7 separate regions of the Homo sapiens genome follow, and regions 2, 3, 4, 5, 6 and 7 are each linked to region 1. The links are contacts of gene promoters, found by promoter capture Hi-C in blood cells and fetal thymus (Javierre and others, 2016). All regions are on one chromosome and are shown on one strand. Each heading gives the region's core, a stretch centred on a gene start or on the middle of the fragment in contact. The rest is flanking DNA. Distances are from core to core; before and after follow the strand shown.

Region 1 (3,169 bases), core at 203-2,702:
TCTTCATCAACTTAACTTCCACTGTGTCTACCAAATCAATACCCAGGTCTTGACAGTTCTCACGATCTGTTGTTCTAATTCCAATATCCAGCCGACAAGCATCCTGGACGAAAATCACAAAATCGTAACGACATCATGTATAAAACCATACTGCCTACTCTGAATTAGACCCCAACCTGGCAATCTTTTGGTTCATTTTTATAAACTTCTTATCATGTTCCTGAGAGCAAGTATTCAAAATCTTCTAGGTTCTTTTACGTTATCAAACATGGCTTTGGTCCGTCACTTTCAGCTGAATCCCTTGGATCTAATTAATGAGGTCAATATCTTTGATCTGTTACAGAGATATAAGGTGAAGAAGTCAGACTTGTAATTATTTAGCACGTCAAATTCACCTTAATATACAGATTCTTAGACCCTCTTCCCCTCCCCCAAAGATTCCAACTCAATAGATCTGGTGAAAACCAGGAATCTGTAAACGCCCAGTAATTCAGAAGCAAACGTAAGAGATCAAATTCTGAGAAACAATGTGTTTCTCTGAGAAAGAGAGGAACGGGATTCATTCTGTAATGACAGGACAAATTCATGTACCATTCAAAACGTCTTTCACAACTAGGACTCATATTTATTATTTACGTTTACAGACTTATTATACTTGTAGCCCTACGCCCAAGGCTCTATCATCATTTACAATCCAGTCACTTCCTCAAACAAATGTATTTGCTCCGTTCTCTGCCTTTTCTCAAAATGTTCACTTTCCTTCCACTTAGAAGGCCCCCTCCGCTTTCTTCCGCAAAATTCAGGATCCAAGATAAATATCACCTCTATGCTGAGTCTTTCCGTACAGGACCCTCCCCAACTCACCTGCAGTAACTTAATACATAACTCTACCATTAAGCAATACGGAACACTTCCATCAACCTCTACACTTTAGTATGGACCTTAGTGTAATGCCTGACAGGGTATACACTCAACAAAGTTTACTGGATTCAAGAATTTGGCCCAAGTACATGAGTGGCCAAACAGCCCTCACAGACATCCAAGATTCCTGGTAGGCGCTAGCTGGGATCGCTCCTGAAGTTCCTCGCTGCCAACGCCACCCAAGGGTGGCGTGGTGGCCAGCGCCGCTCGGAAGACGGGCAAGGAGAAACCCCCGAAGCGGAACGTTGAGAACGGAGGCCCAGTTAAGCCACCCTCCCAGGGGAACAACGGGAGGAACCCGGGCCAAACACGGCAGACGCAGAAGCACCCAGCACCGAGCCGCCGCGCCCAGGAACCGCGGGAGCTAGGCTGAAGCAAGAACTGGTGTCGACCGCCTTACCTTGCAATCGTTGCGGACGAACATCATGCCGTGTCCAGGATAGATGGGCCCCGAACAGAAATAACACTTTTCGATACGCATGTTGAACCCGCGTGTAACCCCACCAAACAAACGCCAAGCTTGAGAGGAAGTGATGCAACCCCGTCACCGGAAGTTACCTTCTTCCCCCTTCCCCGACCGGAAAAAGGCAAGCGTCCTTCGTTCTCGCGGGTCTGTTAGACCAGATGCGAACACGACTGTGCCTCCGGCGGCCGTGTGGTCAAATGCGCTGCCGTTTGACGCAGGCGCAGAGCTGCAGACTAGACCTGTTCGCTGTTACTTTGGGGAAATGTGGTTCTGCGCCACCTTGTGAACTTGCTCTCACAGCGCCTAGTTTTTTCTCTCTGTGTGTCGGCATTTATGCAAGTATTATGTATCTTTGGTTTGTGCTTTGCCTCGGAGTGCTCTCGAGAGCACTCTCTTAACTCATTTGTCTACTGCCTGCCCTAGACCAGCCCTCGATTCTCGTCCCACAGTGATTTGCAGGGTGTAAGCGGCGAAGACCCTGCAATCCAGCGTTGCTTCGAACATTGCAATGAAAACGGTTGAGTTGCTGATGCTCCAAGGACTTTACCAGCAATTTTTTTAAATATAAAATCGTGTTATCCGCCTCCCCCCCATTTTAATTAATATGCATATGTAGTAAACAAATATTTTCGCCGGAAACTACGACTCCCTCCCTAGACCTGCGGTCTTCCTCCCCAGGGGCAAAACAGTTCCATTTATTACCTGCCAGAGCTTTTCTGTGCATAGGCAAACATGTATATTTGTGTGTTTGCCTGTCTCTACGTCCTCTTCTTTATAATACTAGTTAATATGCTATTTACTCTTTTCTGCATCTTGCTGTTACCTTGTATCCCTTCATTGGAATGTGAGCTCCATGAGGGGCAGGGATTTCAGTTCGTTTGGTTTACAACTACATCCCAGTATCTAGAACAGTCCCTGGCACATAATAGGCATTTGATACATATTTTACTGTAAAAGGGTATTTAACATTCTTTTTCATATATATATGCCATTGTATGAAAGTATTTTAATTGGTCACTAATCGATGGGCATTCTTATCTTTTGATATAATAAGTATCTGTTGGTACGCTTTTTCAGGAGAGGGTTTATGTAGAACTGCTGGATCAGAGGAGCTGGATATAGATAAATAGTTTTAAAATTTGGCAGATAATACTAAATTGCCTTCCAAAAGTTTTTACCAATTAACACTCAGCATCAACAAATAAGATGTCTGTTTCACTACCCCGCTGTGAAAAGTGATCTTTGCCAACCTGAGATGAAAATTTATCTTATTATTATTTCAACTTGAATTTAATTACAAATGATGTTAAGAATCTTTCACAATGTTTTTCAGCTTTTTTCTGTGAATTGCCTGTTCAGGTCCTACGCAGTTTTCTATTCTTTCGTTGATTTTCAACAGCACTTTACACGTTAAGGTTAGTCCTTTGCTGACATGCATTTAGAAATTATTTCCCTATCAATGTTTTAAGCTTTGCTCATGGTATTTTTCCATGCAGAAATATGTTGTTTATATATTCAGATTTATCCAATTTTTTTATGATTTTGGATTTGGTACTTTCCTTTAAACTGCACTTCTCACTCCAAAATTGTTTTTCAAAATGTTTTCTCTTATGTTTTGTAGTTTCATTTTTTTGCATTTGAATTTTCAACTCGTCTGGAATTTAAGTATAAATGACATAAGACTCCAGTGTCTTTCCCTCAGTGCTGTATGTTGATAAAGCATCCTTTCCCCCACTCACTCATAATGTCACATCTATGGCTCCATTTCTGGACTCAGTTCCA
Region 2 (3,169 bases), core at 297-2,796, 6.9 Mb before region 1:
CTCCTAATAAACACAGGTGACTTTCTGTATACTGAAATTGACATGGAAATAATGGATCAGCAATAAATTAGGGCTTAACTGTTTAAAGAGGGATTTCAGTGAAAGAAGGGGTAGTACTGCTTTACCAGAGTTAATTAAGGTCTCCAAAGTAAACTTCCGGTTCTGCTCATTGTAAAATCTCTTAAATTTCTACCCAGGAGAGGGCCACAGTAATATCAAGAGTAGCAGCATTTGCTATGTGGACTTTAGAGGAATTCTGTTCCTAAGCAAGGTCCATCTCCAGGGGCCGTTCACGGTGATCAGCTGTCTCCCTCAGCCAGGAAATTCATAGCCTAAGCTTGGTAAACTACCAAGCCCTGCCTGACAGATACAACACAGTTCTTTATCTCTTATTTTGTCCACCCGTTTTTCTCCTTTCCTTCTGCATATTTTCCCTAATCACACAGATCATTGTGAGAATAAAATGGGTTAATATATGTAAACCAATTAGAACTGTTCCTGGCACACAGTAAAGGCTTAATCAATGATAGCTAGTATTATTAGTAGTATTTGGCCTTTTTTCTTTGTTCTTTCTTCATTTTTTTCCTTTTCAAACTATGGTTGTAAAGCATCCACCTTTTGAAAGTTTGCCTTTCTGCCCTTTCACGCTGATAAGTACCTCAGTTTCCAATAAACTTTTGTTCAGGGGCAAACATTTACAATGTTGACATCTCTTCACACCACCAAAAATATTCATGGAGAATTATTTTATCTAAAGCTGTCTTTTTAATAATAAAATAGCCACCTCTACCTTCTTCATAAACTTTTAAGATGAATTGGTAATTCATCATAGCAAGGTTGATTTTAGAAACTAAAGTTGCATTAATTCATTAAATACACTGAAAGTAATTTTGTATGCTTGGTCACAAAGAAAATATAAAAACAATTTTATAAATAGATTTGCAGTTATTTTCTTTCAATATTTTCTTAGTGCCTATGATTACACAATACCACCTATGGAGAAAGCTGTTGTGAAAACGGACATTCAGATAGCGCTCCCTTCTGGGTGTTATGGAAGAGTGGGTAAGTCATTTAAGAAACAGGTAACTATTTGTCAAGTTCTCCTTTGTGATAGATTCTTCATGTTTCATTTGGGGTAATAAGCAGGCAATATTGCTTGGGCTGTGTCCTAAAAGAAGCACCATTTGTGATAGCAAATGCACTCTTTGAAAGGCTTTATTTACATCTCTGCTTTGCCTCTTTTTGACCCTTTTATTTTTCTCCTTCCTCACTGGAGCTTTTAGGCTCACACTGGCCTAGAAGGCTGTTCTCAGAACATGGCATTTTATATTATGAGAGTAAAACTTCTGACCTGTTGGTCCCAGAATGTGTAAGCCTACTTAACCTTTTCTTGTTTGGCCATGGGGTTAGGGTAAGGGATACTCTTCAGTGTTGTAGAGGCACTGGGAGGAGCTAGGACAAAATGGAGTACACGTCAACAGGTTTGATTTTTCTGGAGCGGATCAGTTGTTACCAGACAGTTCTTTGCAAGAGCGTAAGTTCTTTTTGACTAACTTCAGAGTAAACATAAAGGAGGCAATGGAGCTGTGACGCCCTCCTCCAGGGAAAGGAGCTAGACTGGCACTATATTATTAGCCATGAGTGAGGAAACTGCCAGTACTTCAGCCCTTAAAAGATAACAAGATGGGCTCTCATCTCATCTCTTGAGCATCATTGACTCCATTTTTTAGAATTTTTTCAGGGGAAGGGGCAGGAGATGGAGTGAAATAAAGGTTAGTACAGAAAGAGGCAGCATTATTGACAAAGTGCCTGATTTAAATTATTCTAAAATAAAATGCTGGAAGTTAGGATAATTAATTATAGGCCTGATGCTTGAGTCTGCAATAATAAGGTGTAACCTTAGCTTTTTATTTTTTTCATTTTTTAGGATTAAAAAGTATACTAGCATTGAATCATTGAGACTTAGTTTTTGGCATTTTTACTTAACTGATATTAGCCCATTTATCTTACTCTGGTTCATGTGTTTCCTACAGGCATGTCTTTTGGCATCTGAATCATGAATAGTGGGGTCCCAAGTTGTAGGCTATGGTCTGCTACTATTTGGTTAGGTTTGTTTCCCTCTCCCTTCCTCTTCCTTTCCCTTCCCATCTGCATTGTACATGTTGTGGTGTCCCATCTTAAAACCAAAGTCTTCTTCCTCAGTAGTGTGTTCCTGCTGGCCATACTTCTCTTTCTTCCCCTTTGAGGCTTAACTTCTTGAAAGAGCAGCCTACAGTTGTTCCCGCTTGCTCACCTTTCAGCTCATTCTAGCAGTCCTTCTCCCCTGTCTGCAGCACCACAAATTCTGACTGAAGTCACATGGGAGTGGTTTAAGTTAGTTTTGAATTAAAACCTTGTGGAATTTTTCTAAACTAGTCTTTCCAACTTTGGTAATGCAGTATGATGAATATATATTCTTTAATTCAAAACCATGTGCTAAAGTTAAGATGAAGATATAGATATTATAGGTGAAGAGAATGACATGCTTAAATTGCATCAGTTATCTCTGATATAGCCCTTCCCCCTTAAAATAACCAATGTCTCCTTTTTTGTTTTTTAGCTCCACGGTCAGGCTTGGCTGCAAAACACTTTATTGATGTAGGAGGTAATATATTTCCTTTTTTATTCTGTAAATGTTTGCAAGTATTTACTTTGTCTTTAAAAGGTAATATTCAAATGACAGATTTTATTTTTAAGAAAAGAAAATGATTAGAGGAAAGCTTGTTATAATAGGAGGAAAAGCTTTGTGGTTATTTTAAGTAATTATATTTTGTTTAACTACTAACTTAATTTTTAAAATAATGATTACCTAATTAATAATGACAGATTTAATGATATAATAATTAAGTAATTATTTAAGCAACAAAAGTTCTAGAAAACACAGGTCTATCTTGTAAGAATTTTCTTCATAAGAGAGCTATCTGTCTTTAGCAAAATTTAAGAAGAAAATCTTTCCCTGAAGTCAGGAGAGAAAACACTTTTCTCTAAATTTGTTAAGACAGTCCTCTGTGTTACCTGTTTCCCTTATAATAAAGCCTTTCTCATGTTTGTCTCAAAGTTAACCCTACCTCATGTGGTACCTTTCATGAAGAACCCTCAGTGTCCTCTGCTAACTACTCTTGATACAGAG
Region 3 (3,169 bases), core at 471-2,970, 6.4 Mb before region 1:
GAAAGGGTTCCAGTGAATAATCAAGGAATTGGTGGCGGCAGGTTCACATATCCTTTCAACCCTTTCCCATGTGTACTGGCACGGAGTAAAATGGTTGTTCGAGGCTCTTCATACTGTGGCTGGTTTTCCTTTGCTACTTCACCGTCCGCCCCCATGATGCCTACACTGACCCCTGTAACCCCATAAACTGGTATAGGGTTTGGCAAACAACAGGTAATTTAACCCACTGTAATAGAATGAACGAAATCACAGCCTGAGCTAACAATGGTTCCCAGAGCGCTTTTTTTCTTTCACCTGCTGTGAAAGCTGTTTCTTTCACCTGCATCGCCTCTACCTTCTCCTGCTACTTAGTTTTGAAGACAGACTAGCACCTCCTTTGAAGCCTTTCATGACACACACTCCCTCACTTCGCAAAAATGATCTTTCCTACCTCTGTACACAGTGTATCCTATATATCCTATTATAGTTCTTTTATCTACTGTAAGTTTTTGTGTGTCTTACACTCAGTACAACGTGAATATCTTGAAGTACTCACTTTACTTCTTGGGTGTCTAACATGACCCTGGTAGGCACTCAAAACAATTATGTTAAATGAGTAAATGAATAAATGAACAAATAGATGAAGATTTTGGCAGGGGGGCAGGCAGAAAAAGCAAATAAAAGGCCTTCAAGTAAATGGCATTTGTTGAATCTGAGCCAAGGCATCTTAGTGAGAATTAAATGCACTTTTCACTTTTCACATCCCACTGAAGTCGATTGGCAAACTGTATGTTGCATTCTGTGCTGAGGGTTATGATGGAGTGCTGCAGCAAGAATGCCAGGTGATCCCCATGCACAAACAACTGCTTCTTAGAAGGATGAAAGCATAAAACGTGTCAGGGTAAGCACATGAGGAGGCAGTGTTTATAATCCATTACACAGTGCTTTACAGATTGGTAAATTCTTTCACAAGCATCATCTCATTTGGTTCTCACTACAACACTGTGGGGGGTTAGGACAGGTATTCCTACCCATTTTCCAGTTGAAGAAACTTACATAAAAATAAATTAAATGACTTGTCCAAGGCTACACAGCTAATACAAGGCAGACAGAATCTGAAACCAGGTCCTTTATCTCCAAACCCAGAGCTCATCACTACATACAAAATATTTTAGTGAGACTAGCATATACGTGACAAAGAGGGAAAATAAAGAATAAATCAACCTCCCATCCTGCCATGCCTCTAAAAATGGTTTTTGGTGGAGTTATGGATATATTCAACTAAATTTCTTTGACCACCTATCCTGTTTAAGTCCTGGCCTAGGTGCAGGGTAGGACCCCTATGCTCAAGGTACCAACACTCTGAGTTACAAGATGCTTACGTAGAAAGATAAATAATAATAAAAATTGTTTACTAAGTGTAATAAGAGTAGAATAGGCAATAATTCTAGGGAAAGTGAACACCTAAAGATGAATCTATCAAGGCAGGTTCAAGGAAGAAGAGAAGGAGAGAGCTCAACAGGTCAGTTGATTAGCATGAGTGCAATTTAAAGGCCAGACCAGCAAAAGTGCAGGAATCTTACATTTAGATGTAAGTCTGGAGAAGAAGGCAGGAAGGAGGTGGTCCATAGAAGAGCTTTAAGCCTGGGAGAATAGGAAGGGCATTCTACAGAGGTCAGGTAATGGTGTGCACAAGGAATGAATCTAACATCCAAAGAAACACAAGCAGACAGAGGCATTCTGGGATAAGAAAGGCAAGTGTGGGAGAAGAAAGTAAAACTGCCAAAGATCTCAAATGCTGGACAAAAGATTATTTGTGAAACGTTGGCTCGATGTTTACCTTGCATGTTTTAAATGGGCACACCTATGAGCTGGGTGAGACATTTCAAGAGAAAATGTCACATTGTTGATGAGATGGGGTCCCTCCCACTAACAAGCATTTATAAAGGTAAAGCTAAACCATTATTTCTCCTTTTTCCTCCTTTTTGGTGTCAAAGCTATCAGGTCAAAGCAATGTCATCACAGGAGTGCTATCCAAAGTGCTATCATCAAGGAGTACTATCTTCAAAGGAACACAGAACTTAGAGTAAGAAGATCTGAGTTCAAGTCCCAGTTCTCCTACCTACTAGCATTGTCCATAACAATTTAACACTCAAAAGCCTCAAAGTCCTTATCTGAAAATAGGGATGATAATACCCACTTCTCAGGATTGTGGCCAAAAAAAAATGAGATGAGATTGTGAGAAACAGCTTTTAAATGTAAAAACATTATTTTCCATTGTGTTTCTATGTACTATGGCTTATTGGATTAGAGTACACACTGGGGTCTGAGGTAGTAAGGAAAAACCAGGAAGGTGTTCTGGGAGTGGATGGCAGAGAAAGACAAGGGTGAATGTGTGCCGAGGGCAACAGGAGCTTATGGGATGGGACAAACAAAGAGTCTACACAAAGGATATGGCTTCATGAGAACAGGACAAAAATAGGAAGTGCTAGAGATGGAACAGGAGTACTTGGAAAGAACCAAGGAAGATCAGACCATTATTTACATCTTATTCAACAGTATTTTGGGAACACCTACTTTGTGCCAAACACTGTGCTGGGATCATTTAATATTGACATGTGGATCAAAATGCCCACTCTGCTCAAGTCCCTTCTCACAGAATCTGCTCCTGCTCACAGTCATTATGACCTCACCACCATCACCATCCTACCACCCACGGTCCTGGCCAGACTTGACTGAATCAAAGGGGAACACTAGACCCAAGCTGGGCCAATCGTATTCCCTTCCCAGATAACTAAGATTCCACAAAACTGAGCAAGGTGGTAGCCATACAGAGGAGAAGCAGACTTTTATTACACTTGCCTGTATTTTATGGGAAATATGCTTCCTCCATAACTGTGTCATATACATGGTAGACCCTAGACTGAAGATCATGAACTTTTGCCACTGAAAGCCATGTATCTGTCTGGTTCCTGTACTTTGAAAAGCCAGACAGTTTAGCTTTTCCTTGCATTCTGTGATAACTAAACCTTAAAAACTTTTTGACTTGAGCTGGCTTGGGTCATTGTAGAGGTTGAATCATGTTCCCTAAAATTTCATGTCCACCTAGAACTTCAGAATGTGACTTTATTTGGAAATATGGTTTTTGCTGATACAATTGTTTAATATGAGCTCATTCGGGATTAAACTT
Region 4 (3,169 bases), core at 192-2,691, 6.3 Mb before region 1:
AGAGAAATTTTGTTTTGCTTGCTGTTTTAACTTGACAGATGAAGGACTTTAGTTGAACTTCATATTGTAAGAACTGTTAATAAAAGTTGTCAAGTAAAAAGCGCTATATCTAAAAAGACTTTATGAACAGTTATTCTATCAACTTTTAAAGGTTTTAAACCTGCCCAGAAATTACCTTGGTATCTGAAGTTTCCCTCTGTCTCCTCCTCTAATTAAGCTTGTTATTTGTCATGCACCAGCATTGGAGATAATAAAATTTCTTGTTCTGTGTATTTTGTTTGGCTAATAGTATTGCATACATACTTTCTCTGTATACTACTTTCTATTGTATGTGTTAACCAGTATTAAGGGAAAATGATCCAGCTTCAGCTATCTAATTCACAAATTAATTTCTGGAAATTAAACTTTGTAAATTAAGTTTTTGCCTATAAGAATTTGCTGGTCTGGGAAAACCTGCCCTATCAATGAGTATGTTGCCGTGGTTACCTTACTAAGATGCTGAAGTTCTAGGAGAGTAATGATTACATCAGAAGGCTAGGTTCAGCAAAATAAGTGTATCAGCAGGTTTTATCATGATCAGTAAAAATGTTCCAAATGCTTCTGCTCCATTATAGCAGTAAAGAACGAATATCCAATGCAACAGGACAATTCAGAGCCTTATTTATTTTATGGTCATCCTGTCTTTTGGGGAGAGAGATCTGTAAAAGATAGGACTGTGACAAGGCTGATCAGAATTGCTCAGACACTAGCTGGGTTAGGAGGGAGAGATGGTGGAAGTAAAATGTTGGTGCTTAGACTTAATCCTACTGCCTCTTCCACTGCTTTCTCAATTAGCGTGCAGCTACGGTCAGATGAGTGTGGATAGGTAATTAATTGCATGGATGATGTAAATTAGTGTGGGTGGGGGTATGCTAGTGCACAATAAACTGGCTGGTTGTATTTACCTCCAGATCTTTATCTTTACCAGGAAAGTTTATCTTTACTAGGAAAGATAAACTCTTGGAAAAAAAAATCTGAGGTCCACAAACTAGAAGGTTGTGATTCTGTTTTTCTCTGGGACTGAGTAGGGCAAAGAGGTGGGGGTGGGAAACACTATTCCATCTGAAGGCCCATCTTGGGGAGAAAAACCTGGGCTCTGCAATTGACTTGGTTGTTTTTCAGTCTTAAAAATAGGCAGTAAGCTGAGAGACAATGAAAATTGTAAATACTTACTTGTATTTATTGAGGATAGAAAACATTTTAACACCCCTTTTAGGGGTGTAAAATTATTTGTGTTTCTTTTACATGCAGTTGCCACAGACAAACCAGACTACTTGGTTAAAATTTGGGTTCTACTATTTATTAGCTCAGTAACTGGGAAATTAATCTCTCTGGCTCATGTCCTAAACTGAAAATAGGAACAATTGGATGTACCTTACAAATTGTGAGGACTAAATGATGATGTGTGTGAGAGTGTGTGTGTGTGTGTGTGTGTGTGTGTGTGTGTGTGTCTTCATTTAAGGAAGCTAGAGAAAGGAGTTCTGGGGAAATTCTGATTTTGCAAGGTAGGGGATTTAAAGAAGATTTTGAGTACACGGTGTGATTAGGGAGAGTTTTCCAAATTTATCCATACATATTATAAATGTTCGCTTAGATCAGATATCCCATGTTGACTGTCTTCAGGCCACAGATCTATTTTGTTTGGTTCATGCTTATAATTTTAAGAGACCAACATCTCAGTACAGAGACAGCAGCTAAAAATCTAGATTCTTACCTTTTTATTATTATTTTTTTAAAGTAAAAGATCTGGGAGCCTTTGACCTATAGACCTATGTAGCCAACAAACAAACAAAAAAACAAAGCAAAAAAAAAAAAAAACCATCTGATTCACCTTTAGATAAGGAAGATTCTGTTTGCCAAGTCCCTCAGTGTTGTCTCCCCAACACAGAGGCCAGGTAGCACTTGACATTTATCATTGGGCCTGCACCATTGTTTTTTCTTGTGCTTGCACAGCTTGCATTACCTACTTGGCCTCTAAATATCTCAAGTTGCCTCTCCTTGTAGAGACTAAAGGATGTCTCAATTTTTGCCTGTTTTACCTTAACTCTATTACCCTTCTGAATTCAGTACCTGTTAGAGTTGTAGAAATCAGTAAAGAATTAGTGGGAGTGTGAGCAACTGAGACTCTGACTTTGCTTGAGGCCCTAAAATACTATATTAAAGTATGTCAATAAAGTCTGTTGCTTGAATTTTAAAACAAGGAAATACCTATAACTTACCCTTGCAAAAATGTATTCCCATCCTGAAATATGGTAATATTTAAAAATTGCAAGCATCGCATGTTTAATATTTTCTGCCTCTGGAGGTTTGTAAAATATTTTCTGGGAATGAATTGTTATATTCTTGATGTTCTCAGTGGCCAAAGATAAATGTGAACTATCCGTTCCATAAATGCTATCATCTATGAATATATCCATAAATTTGAACCTTTGTTTTCAGTCCAAAGCATATCTTAGAAATTAAGTGGGGATGGGGAAGGCATTAGTATTTCTTTGTATTTATTTTAGAACTTCCAGTGGTAGCATTAAGGATTTAATTAATCCTTTTCTTGTGCTGTATCCACAAGGTCTCTCATCTTTGCTGCCTTCATTTCTTAAACATTTTAGTTGCCTTTCTCATGGGAAATAAAGCTTCTTGAGTTGAGGCCTCTACAGTGGCACATCTCTCCCCCATATCCCCCAGCCATTTCCCCTAGGCCTGCAGGAAAGCTCAAAATAGTTATTAAAAATCAGCCCTCAGGTCTGAGATAAATGAGATCTTAACTTTGGTCCCCACTCTAGCAGTGGGCTGAATACAACCCATTCCATGCCACCAGTGCAGAAAAGCTATGGATTACTTTCAAAGGCACATCATATTACTATAGTTACTGGTAATGAAAACCACCCGTTATCCTCACCTCTGTTTTGCCTGAAAGATTATGGATGGGTAGTAATACTTTGCCCTAAAGAAGGGTACTGAAGGGGAAAGAGAGGCTGAGAATAAACTCTGCCCCACCACATATACCACAATCCCATTCATAAATTCCTTATTCATTTCAGACACCCCACAGAAAGGGCCATCTTAAAAAATGATCATAGATTCTACCCAAAAGGCTGTCATTATGATGGCTTCAGCTTTGCCTACTCTTCCT
Region 5 (3,169 bases), core at 365-2,864, 6.2 Mb before region 1:
ACCATCACGCCCGGCTAATTTTTTTTTGAATTTTTAGTAGAGACGGGGTTTCACCGTGTTAGCCAGGATGGTCTCGATCTCCTGACCTCGTGATCCGCCCGCCTCGGCCTCCCAAAGTGCTGGGATTACAAGCGTGAGCCACCGCGCCCGGCCGATCCCAAACTATTCTTAAAAGTCCACATAATAAAGCCCATAACATTAACATGTTAAATAAATAACAAATTCTGGCAGTGTTTTAATTATATTATTATACAAATAAAAAAAAAAGCCTTGCATAGTGAACAACAAAATGTATGAAAAAACTAGACTAGATACATTATAGAACGTTATTCCTCAGTTTGAATTTCTGTGTTTAGTCTCTCTACTTTTGCCAAGATCTATTTTTTAGGAATAAGAACTTTCATAGCAGAGAGTTGTCTTCATAAAGGAAATAAATATGGAATAAATGTAAACTACACTTAACAAAGTCTAATCATTCTTGTATTATTTGCTTCACAAAAAAGCACAACCATCTACATAGCAAAACTATCTTCATCTTTCAGAAATTATTTCAGAATTTTCCAAATTAATGAAAAAAATCATAGTCCCAGAATCATCTTTGTAAAAATATTTAAGCAGTTTCATGTTCACTTTTTATTTTGTGTACATTAAGGCAAATGTCTATAAACAAAATGCCTTTGATGTAAATAATCTAGAAAGCTCAAGACTCTGTCAGAGTATGAAACAAAAATGTTATTTAAAAGAGTTTATTAGACAAATGTATTCAGATCATTGAGAGCCTATATAATTCAACAAACGTGCATTTAGCATACATTCCGGAAAGAGCACTGTGCTGGACTGGGTTAGGGAAAATGGGCAAACATTACCACAAAGCACACGTCGGCAGAGAATGTACACTAAATTCCTCAGACATGGAACCTCCAGATGAATGCAAATAATTTTCCCAGATTAAGCAATAAAAAACTGACACCCACTTAAAATCAAAACTGAAGTTGGAACATAACGAGACACTCTCCCACAGTGAAACTCCAGAGTATGTACCACACACCCACAGAAAAAATATGACCATGGAAACCCTCCATATTCTTTCTATGTTAAGGTAAAAATAGAATATCTCAAACTTTAAGATATTTTACATCTCATGGCAAAAGATAAAATAAATGTCCTCTGAAGGGAAAAATGATTAATGCTTAAGAGATAACTACTAGCTGTGCTGTTTTTTTGATTAAAATGCCGAAACAAAACACAGTACTTACACGTGTAAGTTTCACAGACTCCAGACAATAATGAGGAAGACAAATCAAAGTATTTAACTTAGATTCTGCCCATACTGGGCAGAATGCTTTGCTACCCATACTTTTCCTTTTTAAAAAACAGACCAAATCTAATGTTTTTTAAATCTGATGGTTACTTTTTTAAAAAACCAGCTTTCTAGATTTAATATTAGTTTCTGAATTATCCACTACTTTGTTTTTAACTTATTATTTTCTCTTTTGATTTGATGGAGTTTCCCCTCTAACTTCTTGCCTTGGATGCTTAATTTTCATTCTCCTTGTAAACTGTTTAACAATGAAGGCATTTATGACTATGCATTTGCCTCAGAGTATAGCTTCAGCCACATTCCATAGGTTTTTTGTTTGTTTGTTTGTTTGTTTTAGAGATGGGGTCCCACTATGTTGTCCAGGCTGGAGTACAGTGGCTATTCACAGGTGTGATCTCACTACTGATCAGCACCAGAGTTTCTACATGCTTCATTTCTGACCTGGGCCAGTTCACCCTTCCTTAGGCAACCTGGAGTTTCCCCACTCCAGGGAGGTTATCATATTGATGCTGAACTTAGTGCAGATACCTGATCCACATAGCACACTACAGTCCAGAACACCGAGGTAGGGTCAAGCGATGCCCCTGCCTTAGCCTCCTTAGCAGCTGGGACTACAGGTGTACACCACCATGCTGGGCCCCATAGGTTTTTCATATGTGGTATTTTATTATTAACACATTTTTAATAACCTATCATACTACTTTTTATTCTTTTTTGACCTAAGAGCTTGAAAATGTCTTTTTGGCCAGGTGCAGTGGCTCAGCCTGTAATCCCAGCACTTTGGGAGGCCGACGTGGGTGGATCACCTGAGGTCAGAAGTTCGAGACCAGCCTGGACAACATGGTGAAACCCCATCTCTACTAAAAATACAAAAATTAGCTGGGTGTGGTGGTGCACACCTGTAATCCCAGCTTCAGGAGGCTGAGGCAGGAGAACTGCTTGAACTGGGAAGGCGAGGTTGTAGTGAGCTGAGACAGTACCATTGCACTCCAGCCTGGGTGACAGAGTGAGACTCCGTCTCAAAAAGAAAAAACAGAAAATGTCTTTTTAAATTTCCAAATGCTATTTTCCCTAAATGTATATATTAATACTTTTTTATTATGAACATATTATTTTTTAAATCTGATAAGACAGCTCATTTACTTATATCCTTACGTAAGGGCCAACTATACGTATTACTGAATAATAAACATTTAAAATAACTTATTTAGAATACATTTCATTTGGAGTACTGACATTACTTAAAGTTTATAAATTATTTAAAGGAAACAATGAAAAGCTAGACAATTTTCTATCCTGATTGGTAAAACGCATGTTGCATGAAATCATACGTATTCATTAGTTTTTCCAAAAATTAAAGACATTAATAACTAGTAATCTTATAAATTCTTTTAAAAGAACTAATGTTAATGTACTAAAAATTAAGCCAACATTTAAATTATTTGTGATAACAGAAAAGAGACTGTTAACCTCAAGTGTTCTGTCACTTCTAAGCCCATTGTTTACTTTAAAAAATCTCAATAAATTTCCTAAAAATAGAACCAGTAAGCCTTTATAAACAAAATGAACTCCATGATTTATCCTTCACATCTCAAAATGCAAGTTTTTTTTTTTTTTTCAGGGGAAAAAATGCATTATATACCAAGCAACACATATTCTTAGAATATTTAACTCTGGCAGTTAAAATTAAGCTAGCTATTTTGATTAAATACAGAGAATACTCTATAAAAAGTGCTGAAAGAGGATACTCCTAAGATTTTCTTCTAGTTATAACATTCTTTCAAATAATCATTATTGCAATTAAGATTATCCATCTAGCACTGTATTCCCAGTAAGTTACTTTTTACA
Region 6 (3,169 bases), core at 436-2,935, 6.0 Mb before region 1:
AAAAAAATTCACACAAGTTAATGGGTGCTGATTTGTTAACTATGGAGTAAATTAGAATTAAAAAACAAAACAAAACAAAAAAACTGTCTGCTGGGCACGGTGGCTCATGCCTGTAATCCCAGCACTTTGGGAGGCGGAGGCAGGTGGATCACCAGGAGTTCGAGACCAGCCTGACCAACATGGAGAAACCCTGTCTCTACTAAAATACAAAAAATTAGCCGGGCATGGTGGCGCATGCCTGTAATCCCAGCCACTTGGGAGGCTGAGGCATGAGAATCACGCCACTGCACTCCAGCCTGGGCAACAGAGTAAGACTCTATCTCAAAAAAAAAAAAAAATAAATAAAAATAAAAAAATAAATAAATAAATAAAACCATTGATAATTTATTTGCAGACATTTTTCTATATTTTTCCCACCTAACAAAATTGGGATAATATGGATTATACCGTCTTTGATATTTTTTGAACTTAACATTTATATTGAATACATGTTCGCTATGTACATAGCACTGGCAATCGACCATCATCTTTCTACTGATCTTTTTATTAAAAGGATGACAAATACGAGAGTCTGTAAGAGATCCTGTAGCTAAGACTCATTTACCTCCCCACTGCACACAAAAAAATAGACAAATAAGTAAAAATGTAGAGCATTAAAACTGCTATACCATAAAAAATAATGGCAACATGGGTGGAGCTGGAGGCCATTTTTCCTACCCAACTAATGCAGGAACAGAAAACCAAATACTGCATGTTCTCTGTTATAAGTGGGAACTAAATGATGAGAACTCATTAACACAAAGAAGGGAACAGACACTAGGGCCTGCTTGAGAGAGAAGGGTGGGAGGAGGGAGAGCAGCAGAAAAAATAACTATTGGATACTTGGCTTAGTACCTGGGTGATGAAATAATCTGTATAATAAACCCTTGTAATACGAACTTATCTATATAACTAACCTGCACATGTACCCTTGAACCTAAAAGTTAAAAAAAATAAATAAAACTGCTATATATTAAGACAAGAAGAACAATACTAGTAAACATTTATCCCCTAATCCCAACTATGAGCTTGACTAGGGGAATATAATGAGGCTCACAGCTGGTCATATGGTCATATATTTAACCAAGTGGAATTATTCTAACTTTTAGACAATGTTTTCCTTGTAATACATTTAAATAATTATATCCAAATATAGGCCAGGCGTGGTGGCTCACGTCTGTAATCTCAGCACTTTGGGAGGGCGAGGAAGGCCAATCACCAAAGGTCAGGAGTTTGAGACCAGCCTGGCCAACATGGTGAAACCCTGTCTCTACTAAAATATAAAAATTAGCCGGGCATGGTGGTGGGTGCCTGTGGTCCCAGCTATTCAGGAGGTTGAGGCAGGAGAATTGCTTGAACCCAGAAGGTGGAGGTTGCAGTGAGCCGAGATCATGCCACTGCACTCCAGCCTAGGCGAAAGAGCACAACTCTGTCTCAAAAAAAAAAAAAAAAATTATATTCAAATATATAATATCCTACATATAACAGGACTTACTAAAGACTAATTTTTGGAATAAAGTCAATTGGTCTTAAATTCTTTCTAAAAAGATTATTAGAAGTTTCACGGTAGAACGATTGGACTGCGGAATTAAAACAGTTAGCTTATCAATGGCCTTACCAACTTAATGAATGGCACTATGATTATTATTTAGTGTTACTGGATCAGCAAATAATCTATAAACCTGTAAAATTAGCATTGCATTAAATGTCATTTACTAGCACCATCACCTACCACAGATTACTATGTTTAGAAATGCCTGCTTCTGCCTCTAATGAAAATCAAACAGATCTTAGAACATACATGATCATGCATGTATGTTGAATTTCTTTTATATTCGTTTCTTTTTTTTTTTTTTTAAATAACAAGTTTGTTTTATTTTAGATTCTTCTTGGGCAGAAATCATTATTTACTTTCTTGGGTAAAAACAGTACAGTTTTAGAAACAGACTTAATTTTTCAGGTGGTATCCTAACTACCTATTTCTACCAGATTGGGGAAGAACAAAGTGATTTAGGGTGTTAAAATATATCATTGGACGACCAATAAAGATATGCTGAGTATCACTGTGGTCAGCAATACTCACTGCTCTTAGTTAACACTTTAACTAAAACGAGGTGATGATCAATTTTCCAAAAAACAATACATTTTTTATAAAAATAAATCTTGAGAAAACAAGTCAATTACGCACATTTTTTAAATACTAAGAAACATAAAAAAAAAAAAAGAAAATCCCAGACAAAATAACTATTTTAAAAAAAGAAAAACTCTTTTGGCAAAAGGTAAGCATGAAATGGTAACCTGCTTCATTAATCTTTTTTTTTTAAATATATGATTTAAGGAAATGAAAAACAAATTACTAAATAAGTTTTATGCCACCAAAAGTTTTAACTGTTAGTAAATTGATCATAAATAATTTTACAATTAGACACCTGATGAGAGACAGATGAGGGGAGGAAGAGCTATTTAATAGAACGCTAGGGAAAGAAAAACAAAAAACCCAACAGAAAACTCCAACATTTCATTTCATTATGTGGTAGTGCAAAATCTTACTTTAAGAAATAAAAAAGTTAAAACAAGGCTGGTTGTGGTGACTAACACCGGTAATCCCAGCACTTTGGAAGGCTGAGGAGGGCAGATCACTTGAGGTCAGGAGTTCAAGACCAGTCTGACCAACATGGTGAAACCCCGCCTCTAATAAAAACACAAAAAATTAGTCAGGTGTGGTGGCAGGCGCCTGTAATCTCAGCTACTAAGGAGGCTGAGGCAGGAGAATCGCTCGAACCTGGGAGGCGGAGGTTGCAGTGAGCTGAGATTGTGCCACTGCACTCCAGCCTGGGCAACAGAGTGAGACTCTGTTTCAAAAAAAAAAGTTAAAGCAATTATATATTCAACTTCATTTTACTGCTCATGTAGCGTAGGCCCTAAAAGGCTGGGAAAATATGACCAAGTTAAAACACTGTATGTTTAATAAAAAATCTTGCAAAAGTTAATCAAGTACTTCATGGGACAAAAAGATTCTCACTGCTATTGCTACATTACATTCTCAAAGATGATCATCAGCTTGATCACAGTGCTAATAAGTTATGTATCCAACAGACTATTGCTTAGGAAAGAGGTAAGCAGAAACACT
Region 7 (3,169 bases), core at 398-2,897, 5.6 Mb before region 1:
CAGGTGTCCCAGCTACTCGAGAGGCTGAGGTGAGAGAATCGCTTGAACCCCAGAGGCGGAGGTTGCGGTGAGCCAAGATTGTGCCACTACACTCCAGCCTGGGTGACAGAGCGAGACTCTCTCTAAAAAACAAACGGACAAATAAAAACAGCTAGAGAGAATGAATAAGATCTAATATTCGATAGCACAACTGGCTAACTATAGTCAACAATAATTTACTGCACATTTTAAAATAAATAAAAGAGTATAATTGGAATGTCTACAACATAAATAAGTGATAAATGCTTGAAATGATGGATACCCCACTTACTCTGATATAATTATTATATATTGTATGTATCAAAAATTATCTCATGTATGCCATAAATATATATATACTTATGATGTACCCTTAAAAATTAAAAATAAAAATTTGAAAAAGGAAAGCAAATGTTTAGACAGAAGCAAAGATGCATAGAGATGTGAAGAACATGTTATGGGAAACAGGGAACTCTAGAGCTAGTCAAATTGAAAAGAATGAGAGATATGAGAGATGGTGCATGCAAAAGGCTTACAGACAGAAAAATACTCACGATATAATATCTCTAGCTTCATGGGTATAGCAATTTGGCTAGAAGGAACTCACAATACATTTACAAATATACAGAATCAAACTTAATGAAAACAATTTAAGCATTGACTTTTTTTTCTTGTAATGGCTGTCAAACCACTCCAAGTACAAAGCACCAAAAATAATATGCACATTTAAATTAAAGGGAATTAGAAAAGTGAAGAAAGTGAAACTTGCATAGTGAAGTTCTAACTAATTTCAAAAATTCCATGTTTCTTTTGGGGTAAAATTAAAATAAGGTAAGGTATAAATTAAACAGATTTCTACTTTTGGTAGGATGTAGAAGGATATAAAACACCTACACTTCCATGATAATAATAAGACAAACTTGGACAAAAAAAAAATCATATTTTTCTATGGGGTTAGTGAAAAGTGGTGAATGCCAGGAGGCAGGACCAGTTAAATAACTTGTAAACATTCAGAGTTCCTTGTTCAAAATTATTGAGTTTGAAGATAATAACATCAGAGCATTAAACCAAATGCATGTACTTCTCAGCATAAGGCCCTGTGCAACTGCAGAAGTTGTAAACCCATGAAGCTAAAAACAAGCCTAACTGTCCCATAGAACTAATGTTTATGGTTTCTTTAAATAAATATAGAAATTAATCCTTCTAGTCTTAAAACTTGAGAAAGTTACATTGGTCTTATCTGAGTTCCTTTCCCAGAAAACTAACCATCAGGCCTCCCAGATAGTGTCAAGGAACTAAAACATACCAAATCACTATATCTTGACAATTAGCCTCTAGACTCCTCACCATCACCCATCATGATTGCCTAACTGACTACCTGTTTCCTGTTAACCAACTCCTCCTTCTTACCACCACTCCCTAATTTCTGTTTTCCCACACATGGTTACATTTCTTCCTTGCTATATAAAACCCTAATTTTAGTCAGTCAGGGAGATGGATTTGAGACTGATCTCCCATCTCCTCGGCTGCAGCACCCTATTAAAGCTTTCTTCCTTGGCAATACTCATCTCAGTGATTGGCCATCTGTGCAGCGAGCATTAAGACCTAGACCAAACCCTTGGTGTTTCAGTGACAAAGCCAGCTCTACCTGGGAGCCCTGATTACCTGAAATTCCAAGAGAAATATAACCTTTGTAAGTGAACATAAAGCTGTGGAAGCTTCCTTACCCCGGGGCCAGCTCTGCTGCTCCTCCTTTGACATGTTCGTTGGCCTGCCATGGTACAGTAACTTTGCAGAAATGAAGAGAAATCAGCTGGGTCTTAGGCTTCAATGTGAGTTGGGCGACCAAACTGGGGTATGAAAGACACCCAAATGCAAAAATAAATGACTCAGCCAAACAATCCCTTTCCCCTCACCCACAAACCTCACTTCTGACTTTTACCAAGTCAGATAGTTTGGCTCTGTATCTCCACTCAAATCTCATGTTGAACTGTTGGAATCCCCAGTGTTGGAGGTGGGGCCTGGTGGGAGGTGATTGGATCATGGGGGTGGTTTCTAATGATTTTGCAACATCCCCCTAGTGCTGTTTTGTGATAGACTTCTCATGAGATCTGGTTGTTTAAAAGTGTGTAGCACCTCCCCCTTCACCCTTTTCCTCCTGCTCCAGCCATGTAGGACGCATCTGCTTCCCCTTCACCTTCTGCCATGATTGTAAGTTTCCTGAGGCCTCCCCAGCCATGCTTCCTGTACAGCCTGTGGAACTGTGAGTCAATTAAACTTCTTTTCTTTAAAATTACCCAGTCTCTGGTAGTTCTTTATAGCAATGTGAGAACGGACTAACGCAGCAGGGGAGGAAGGGCTGGAAAATATATTCTGCTCATGAAGCTGGAGGTTCTACTACGTCACATGACAAACGACATGCATATAACAAGAAATGGACAAGGGAAGGCTAATAATATAAGCTATTATAATGTTTATAAGAAAGATTGGCCTGAATTTTTCTATCTTATAATGTGAAGATTTGGAATTAAGGCTATTATGGTCTCAAAAAAAATGAGTTGGGAAATGCCTCTATTTTTTTCTATTATCTGAAAGAATTTAAAATCTGAAAGATCAGTACTATTTCTTCCTTTCTTCCTTAAATGTTTGGTGGACACTGCTAGTTATGTTCCCTGAACCTGAACCTGAAATTATGGGGGAGTTTTAAATTAAGGATACTGTTATGGACCTAATCATGCCCCCACCCCAAATTCATATGTTCAAGCCCTAACACTTATAACAAGATGTGACTTTATTTGCAGATGGAGCCTTTGAGGAGACAATTAAGGTTAAAAGAGACTAAAAGAGTGGGGCTCTAATATGATTGGTGTCATTATGAGAACAGACACCAGAGAGCTTGCTTGCTTATACTCTCTCTCCATATACACACAGATATTTTATCTGTGAAAATATCTAGAACTATGAAATAATAAACTTTGTGTTGTTTTAAGCCACTTTGCTTGTTGGCTGTTTGTTACAGCAGCAATAAGAAACTAATATGAGGAGAAAGAGTGATTTTTTTTTTTAGCATTTTGCAGATGTGAAAAATGCCACACACTTAACTGATGCTCTGTCTATATAAGAGAAGAGGCTTTGTAAGGACATGGTGAGA

The links. The method cuts DNA at HindIII sites, captures the fragments that hold promoters and counts their contacts. A CHiCAGO score of 5 or more calls a contact.
Region 2: a fragment that was not itself captured here is called in contact with the fragment with the promoter of RSL24D1 in region 1 in 4 of 17 cell types (non-activated CD4 T cells, naive CD4 T cells, total CD4 T cells and 1 more); the score reaches 11.3 in non-activated CD4 T cells.
Region 3: a fragment that was not itself captured here is called in contact with the fragment with the promoter of RSL24D1 in region 1 in 9 of 17 cell types (naive CD4 T cells, non-activated CD4 T cells, naive B cells and 6 more); the score reaches 18.3 in naive CD4 T cells.
Region 4: a fragment that was not itself captured here is called in contact with the fragment with the promoter of RSL24D1 in region 1 in 1 of 17 cell types (activated CD4 T cells); the score reaches 5.5 in activated CD4 T cells.
Region 5: a contact is called between a fragment that was not itself captured here and the fragment with the promoter of RSL24D1 in region 1, in 1 of 17 cell types (non-activated CD4 T cells). The highest score is 5.1, in non-activated CD4 T cells.
Region 6: a contact is called between a fragment that was not itself captured here and the fragment with the promoter of RSL24D1 in region 1, in 5 of 17 cell types (naive CD4 T cells, non-activated CD4 T cells, activated CD4 T cells and 2 more). The highest score is 10.4, in naive CD4 T cells.
Region 7: a fragment that was not itself captured here is called in contact with the fragment with the promoter of RSL24D1 in region 1 in 1 of 17 cell types (non-activated CD4 T cells); the score reaches 6.2 in non-activated CD4 T cells.

Annotation. Positions count from the first base shown.
Region 1 is chr15:55,195,489-55,198,657 of GRCh38, forward strand. RSL24D1 (ribosomal L24 domain containing 1) reads right to left here and starts at 1,453. Exons shown (of 6, transcript NM_016304.3): 1 at 1,322-1,453. The coding sequence starts at 1,402. RefSeq lists enhancers at 573-1,464, 1,258-1,417. The HindIII fragment of the contact is 1,416 bases long and covers 1,439-2,854 here.
Region 2 is chr15:48,333,447-48,336,615 of GRCh38, forward strand. DUT (deoxyuridine triphosphatase) reads left to right here. Exons shown (of 7, transcript NM_001025248.2): 3 at 971-1,062; 4 at 2,600-2,644. Among named protein-coding and RNA genes, the nearest start is that of DUT-AS1, 3.2 kb to the left of the region's middle. The HindIII fragment of the contact is 2,422 bases long and covers 336-2,757 here.
Region 3 is chr15:48,811,799-48,814,967 of GRCh38, forward strand. LOC124903487 (a long non-coding RNA gene) reads left to right here. Exons shown (of 2, transcript XR_007064626.1): 2 at 1-111. Among named protein-coding and RNA genes, the nearest start is that of CEP152, 2.3 kb to the left of the region's middle. The HindIII fragment of the contact is 4,636 bases long and covers 1-3,169 here.
Region 4 is chr15:48,879,534-48,882,702 of GRCh38, forward strand. All of the region lies in intron 4 of SHC4 (SHC adaptor protein 4), which reads right to left. It overlaps EID1 (EP300 interacting inhibitor of differentiation 1), which reads left to right. Exons shown (of 1, transcript NM_014335.3): 1 at 1-640. Among named protein-coding and RNA genes, the nearest start is that of EID1, 3.0 kb to the left of the region's middle. The HindIII fragment of the contact is 2,452 bases long and covers 216-2,667 here.
Region 5 is chr15:49,040,685-49,043,853 of GRCh38, forward strand. All of the region lies in intron 1 of SECISBP2L (SECIS binding protein 2 like), which reads right to left. It also overlaps the pseudogene RN7SL577P. Among named protein-coding and RNA genes, the nearest start is that of SECISBP2L, 4.2 kb to the right of the region's middle. The HindIII fragment of the contact is 5,750 bases long and covers 1-3,169 here.
Region 6 is chr15:49,149,925-49,153,093 of GRCh38, forward strand. All of the region lies in intron 1 of COPS2 (COP9 signalosome subunit 2), which reads right to left. Among named protein-coding and RNA genes, the nearest start is that of COPS2, 4.1 kb to the right of the region's middle. The HindIII fragment of the contact is 6,239 bases long and covers 1-3,169 here.
Region 7 is chr15:49,613,376-49,616,544 of GRCh38, forward strand. FAM227B (family with sequence similarity 227 member B) reads right to left here. Exons shown (of 16, transcript NM_152647.3): 2 at 1,746-1,868. The coding sequence starts at 1,796. Among named protein-coding and RNA genes, the nearest start is that of FAM227B, 5.9 kb to the right of the region's middle. The HindIII fragment of the contact is 173 bases long and covers 1,562-1,734 here.